Linked DNA regions of Homo sapiens: region 2 is linked to region 1. Evidence: promoter capture Hi-C in 16 types of primary human blood cells and fetal thymus (Javierre and others, 2016). All regions are on one chromosome and are shown on one strand. The core of a region is centred on a gene start or on the middle of the fragment in contact, and the rest is flanking DNA. Distances in the headings are between cores, read along the strand shown.

Region 1 (3,091 bases), core at 310-2,809:
TCGCAGTGATGCTGGCTGGGGGCGAGGGGAAGCCATGTTTGGGAAGTCCCCTCATGGAACACTGCATTTCACAAGCAGAGTACTTGCTGACTAACGCAAAATGCTTCCTTAAATGAGTTCCAATGGATAATGCAGTCTTTAAGAAACAGAACAGTACAATACATCAGTTTCACCATCTTCCTCTAAAACGAAGTGCCTTTGAATCCTAGACATTTAAAATTTGCTTTAAACCTGCTTCCATCTCAAATATTCAGGAAATGCATATAATTTCATTTACTTTTTATTTACACAAGTCGCCTTTGTGAAACCCTTCATGTCCCCAGCGGATATTTAGGAGGAGACTATTCATTTGGATCCCTCCTTCTGTCTTTAGAAATATTATCACCCTGGAACGTTAAGTACTGATCATAAGCAAAATTAAAGTTCCTGGCGAATCTCAATATATGTCTTTTTCCCACCAAACATGACAAACTTCTAAAGACAACTCAACCCTTCACATACACACACACACACACACACACCCTCAGCTGTGCCAGTGTCCCTGATGTTGCATCTAGTTAACCTACAAGACCCATTCCCACGGGTCATGACCCAGTATTTCTGATGACCACATTCAGTGCTGTGAGGTGCCCAAACCATTACCGCATCCACCTCTCTGTGAACCATGCCCAGTGAGCTCATGCAGGAACCTGGGTTGGAGCGCTCCTTGCTGTGAAGCTAAAGGATCCATCACGAATCTGGGAACCCTCCCTCGCGGTTCTCCCCGGCCACACAGCGTGGGAGCCGCTGGGTTAGGGTAGGAAAAGGGGCGCCTGCTTGGAGGAGGGTGGTCGGGTCATGCTGTGCGCAGCCAGGGAAGCCGAGTTTGGGAAGAAGGCAGCCGGGGAGCCGGAGGGGATAAAAATACCCACAGGGGCTGAAAGAGTTGGGGAAGAGGGGGCGGCGAGGACGACCCCGGTTCAGGCGGGAAAGGAAAGATGGAAAGGGGGCGCAGGAAATGGGCGCCAAAGAAAGAAGTGAGAAATTGCGGAGGAGGAAGTCGTCCCTGGAAGAGGAGGGGCAAAGGGGAAGCGAGAATGGAGTGTTTGCACTTTCGAGAGGGAAGGGCCAGAGCCTCTCCCGACCAGGGCCGGCGGGGCGGACGCCTGGGGAAGGGGCGTCCGGGCGGGCTGAGGGGGCGGCGCGGTGCCCAAGGTCCCCGGGGTCCCTACCTGAACCGCTCCTGTCCCGCCGTGTCCCAGAGCTGTAGCTTGATCCTCTTGCCCGGCTCGATCTCCAGCAGGCGGGAGAAGAAGTCCACGCCGACGGTGGGGTCGCAGGCGGGGGAGCGCAGCCCGGGGAAGCGGCCCTGGGTGAAGCGGTGCAGGAGGCAGGACTTGCCCACGGTGGAGTCCCCGATCACGATGAGGCGGAACTGGTAGATCCAGATGGTCTCCATCGCTCACGTGCCCCGCTGGCTCCCGGGCCGCCCCACCCGCGGGCTAAGTTCGGCGGCGGGAACTGTCCTTTCAGCACCTCGCGGGCGCCCGCCCGCCGCCTTCCAGCATATTCCTGCGGCTGCGGCCGCCGCCTGGTGCCCGCCCTCTCGGGAGAGAGAGGCGGGGCCAGGCCCGGCTAGGGGCGGGGCCTCTGGACGGGGGCGGGGCGGGGGCGGTGGCGCGTGGGAGGGGGAAGCAGGTTTGCTGCCGCGAACTCCCGCCCCTGACCGGCTGCAAATCACTCTCCCTCAACGCTCACTGGGCGCCGGCAGGAAAGTGGGCGTGGCGGGAAGACGTGACAGCAGCAACAACCAAGGAAAATGAAGCAAGGTCTCAACTCCGGGAGGGTCAGCCAATGAAAAGTGAGAGTCGTTTTCTTACAGGCGTCAGGGCGGGTTGGTCAGATTAGGGCTCTGATTTTGGAAGTCCCTGAGGCCATAACTTGGGTCATTGCTTTGATTCCTCTTTTTTTTTTGTCCCCCAGGCTGGATTGATGTGGTGAGATCTCGGCTCATTGCAGCCTCAAGCGATCTGCCCACCTCAGCCTCCCAAGCAGCGGGGACCACGGGTGTGAGCCATCACACCTGGCTAATTTTCTTCTGGGTTAAAAAAAAATTTTTTTTTTAGAGATGTGGTCTCGCTATGTTGCTTAGGCTGGTCTCAAACTCCTAGGTTCAAGCGATCCATCCACCTCAGCCTCCTGAGTAGCTGGGACTACAGGCGGGGGCCACCACATCCCGCTAATTTTCTAACTTTTTGTAGAGATGGGGTCTTGCTGTGTTGCCCAGGCTGGTCTCGAACTCCTGACCTCAAGTGATCCTCCAGGCTCAGCCTCCCAGTGCTGGGATTACAGGTGTGAGCCACCACACCCTGCTTTCTTGTCTTGATGAGAGCCACCTCCAAGGCATTTTAAGGTGAAGGAGTTTTGGGCAGGATTGAAATAAATTTGCACAGCCAGTTCTGGGTGCTTCTAGCAAGGGCTCTGGCTGTTGCTGCGTGCTGCCACTGTCTGTTCTTCACTGCTATGAGTACCACAGAAGAGTGAGAAACGCCAAGTATCATCCCCATACCCTCTGGGGCCCTCCAACCCTGGGGACAGTGGCAAAAAAAAAAAAAAAAAAAAAAGCCGGGGAAATGTTGAGAAGCTCATGAAATTTTCAGCTCTCCTTGGTCTCCATTGTTTAAGTCAGAAAAAAGCGAACAGGTGGTCTCTTAGCTCATGTCTGATTAATGATGTAAGTAAACAAAGCAGAACTTAAATTCTGGTGAGATCTTACTACTTTCTTGTGCCTTTCCTCAAATTGAGTAATAGTGACGTCAAGGTTTATCTTTAAAAAGTGAAACAGTTTAAAAGTGTGTGTTAGGCCGGGCGCGGTGGCTCACGCCTGTAATCCCAGCACTTTGGGAGGCTGAGGCGGGTGGATCACCTGAGTCAGGAGTTCGAGACCAGCCTCAACATGGAGAAACCCCGTCTCTACTAAAAATACAAAATTAGCCGGGCGTAGTGGTGCATGCCTGTAATCTCAGCCACTCGGGAGGCTGAGGCAGGAGAATTGCTTGAACCCGGGAGGCAGAGGTTGTGATGAGCTGAGATCGTGCCATTGCACTCCAGC
Region 2 (3,324 bases), core at 606-3,105, 730 kb before region 1:
ATATAATAGCTTAGTATTTTATCTCAGAATTTATACAGATTTAAAGCAATATAAATGAAAAAAAGCTGTTAAATTTTAACAGTGATTTTTCACTGCTTCACTGTGAGCCAATCTGAAAACATTTCTTTAAATTTGTAGATAATTTGAGTCCACTTAAATTAATTGTTATGGGTGATACATTTGGTCTCAGTTCTGTCATAGTAATTTGTATAAAATTTTGTAAAATATATATGATGTGTTATTTTCCTATATTATCTGTTTTCTTTGGTCATCTTGATATTTTTTATTTTTGTTTTTAGAACACTGTGTGTAGTAGTTGCCTATATAATAAGTCCTTTATATGATGCTCTTATACTCCTTTTTCCTTGAGTCAGTGATACCCCTTGATTTCCATTTATTATCACTATGGAAATCCATGAGTTTATTTTCTCTTTCATTTGCATTGTCAGAGCATATTGCATTTATGCTTTATTCTTCCATGCTTACTCCACTTTGTTTAGACTTAGATCTAAAATTACATTTAATGCTCATTCTTCAACTGCCAAAGTTTTCCACATCACCTCTTGGTTCCAAGGAACTTACAGGTGCAATATTCGCTGAGGTCCTGCATGCTTTAAATTGTTTTTCAATAGCCTCAAGTTGTAAAGTTTTTAGTTTTCACTTTTTTCCCTTGAGTTTCTTTTAAAGGGTTGTTCCACTGTTGTCTTGTTTAGTGTGTTGTTGCCAAGCTGTCTGATGCCAATCTAATTTTCTTTCTTTCATAATGACCTTAATTGTTTTGAATGAAAAATCAGATTATTTTTTCTCCCTTTTTTAGTAAATCAAATCATTTTACTAAATTATGTTTTAGAGTTAATTGTTTATGGGTCAATTCTCCCAGGCACACAGTGGACCTCTTCAGTAATAGTTTTTTGCTTTTGTTTTTTTGTTTTTGAGATTGAGTCTTGCTCTGTCGCCCAGGCTGGAGTGAAGTGGTGCGATCTCAGCTCACTGCAACCTCCGCTTCCCAGGTTCAAGCAATTCTCCCGTCTCAGCCTCCCAAGTAGCTGGGACTACAGGCACCCACCACCAGGCCCAGCTAATTTTTCTATTTTTAGTAGAGACAGATTTCACCATGTTGGCCAAGCTGGCCTGGATCTACTGACCTCACATGATCTGCCCACCTCAGCCTCCCAAAGTGTTGGGATTACAGGTGTGAGCCACCGCACCCAGCCAGTTCTTTGTTTAAGTTTGTCTGCTCTCTGCATTGTAACTGCCTTTCTACATTGCCAATAAAGTTAAATACTGTTTAATTTTAAGAGAGTCCACAAGATCAGAATAACTTGGCCTAAAGATGCTAAAAGGTGAACCCATCCATGTCCTCTTGTTACGTAAAAATGGCAAATAACTATTTGTAAATCAATTCAACTGTATATTTGACTTTTTTTAAGTTGGAAAAGAAATTAATACAACAAGATATATGTTTATTCAAATAGTGAAATTACCTTTGTTTCCTTATACCTTATTAATATAATCAGTCTGAAGTCATTGTTAGGATACAACACCTCTATACAATTTTTGAAGTTGCAGCTTTGGTTGGTTCCATCTCCTTTTACTCATATCCTCTAAAACTTGGCGGGGCCAGCATGCAGCCACCTTGATTCCAGAATGCATCCTGTCAAACCTTTAAACAACAAAAATATATTTACCTAATTGGCTAGTACACATAAATTAAAAGGCCACGAGGTTTAAGCTTGCCACAACTGTTGTGTTGCTAACTACCCAGGAGTCATGAATCAATTAGTTTGTCTATGCATGTGTTTGTTCATTCATTTATGTATAACTTTTTTCCTTTATTTATCTAATTGTCTTGTACTAGACATTCTTAAGCCTCAAGAATACAAAAATGAAGAAAAAAACTGTCCTTGCCTCAAGAAATTTATAATCAAGCATGATGGCCTCCAAAGTTAGTTGCACGAGAATCACATAGAAAGCTTTTAAAAAATAGTGCTTCCTGAGCTTTAGCCAAAAATATTCCTATTCTATAAGTATGAAACAGAAACCAGGCAATTCTGTTTCATAGGGACCTCTGGTCTAGTAAATTACAATTAATCATAATAATTGAAGCTGATTATAATCAGTTCAAGTTGAATACCACCAAAATTAAACCATAATAAAACTATGAAAATTAACATACAAAGGGAAAATAGTAATAAATAAAGTTTCCATATGCTGTTGATTTTTTTGTTGTTGTTGTTGTTGTTTGAGATAGGGCCTCGCCCAGGCTGGAGTGCAGTGAAACAATCAGGGCTCACTGCAGCCTTGAACTCCTGGGCTCAAGCCATCCTCCTGCCTCAGTCCCCTGAGTAGCTGGGACCACAGGCACATGCCACCACGCCTGGCTACTTTTTTATATTTTTAGTTGAGACAGAGTTTTGCCATGTTGCCCAGGCTGATCTCGAACTCCTGGACTCAGGCGATCTGCCTGCCTCAGCCTCCCAAAGTTCTGGGATTACAGGTGTGAGCCACTGCACCCTGCCTGCCCTTGATTCATATTTGAACCATAGATATTAATAAGACGCTTAACAAAACCATCTCAACTCATCAATGTTATCAATAAAAATTACTGTGGCTATCACACATAAGGATTCTCATACTGTGGTTCACTAGTAAAAATACTTGAAGACTCATGCCCTAATCACTTGTCTGAGATAAACTTAATTTCTGCCACTATTTTCACTTAGTGAGAAATTGGAACTTCCAGATAGTTATTTTTGGTCTATCATGGGCCAGCAGGTGGCAGGGTAGGATTAAGTGCTAGTTTTCCCTTGGGAGTGGACTGAATTTGGCCTGGGTTTTTATAGTCACTCAGCAATTTGGTGTACTGGTAAGTTTGTCTGTCTTATTAAAACATTGAGTTTCTAGGACATGCTTTATTTACAATCAGTACTCCCAAAATTCTATTTTTAATTCATTCTTCCAACGCTTCTTTTTAATTAACAGGAAGTAATTGCTAATATTTATTGAGCACCTAGTAAGTGCTATTTCTAACTTCATTACATACATTCTTTCTAAACCTCACACAACTCATTTTCCGGATGAGAAAACTGAAGGCAAGAAAGATTAAATGATACGCCCAGGGTCATATGTGACTTAATACTTGATATCATTGGTATTCTCTCCCAGTTTGTGGCACCACAAAACATAATTTTGATTTATTTCATCATGGAAAGACTTCCAACTCTCCTGTTCTAAAAAGAATTAGTATCTTCATAAATAGCAGTTTGTCATGTACTGGGGCCAACCTTACTGAGTTCAGTTATTCAAGTTAACCTTGAATCTAAT

Evidence for each region. The method cuts DNA at HindIII sites, captures the fragments that hold promoters and counts their contacts. A CHiCAGO score of 5 or more calls a contact.
Region 2: a contact is called between a fragment that was not itself captured here and the fragment with the promoter of RAB39A in region 1, in 1 of 17 cell types (total B cells). The highest score is 5.7, in total B cells.

Annotation. Positions count from the first base shown.
Region 1 is chr11:107,926,916-107,930,006 of GRCh38, reverse strand. RAB39A (RAB39A, member RAS oncogene family) reads right to left here and starts at 1,559. Exons shown (of 2, transcript NM_017516.3): 1 at 1,212-1,559. The coding sequence starts at 1,438. RefSeq lists silencers at 1,084-1,303, 1,334-1,823. The HindIII fragment of the contact is 18,255 bases long and covers 1-3,091 here.
Region 2 is chr11:108,654,651-108,657,974 of GRCh38, reverse strand. No RefSeq gene overlaps it. Among named protein-coding and RNA genes, the nearest start is that of DDX10, 8.8 kb to the left of the region's middle. The HindIII fragment of the contact is 241 bases long and covers 1,735-1,975 here.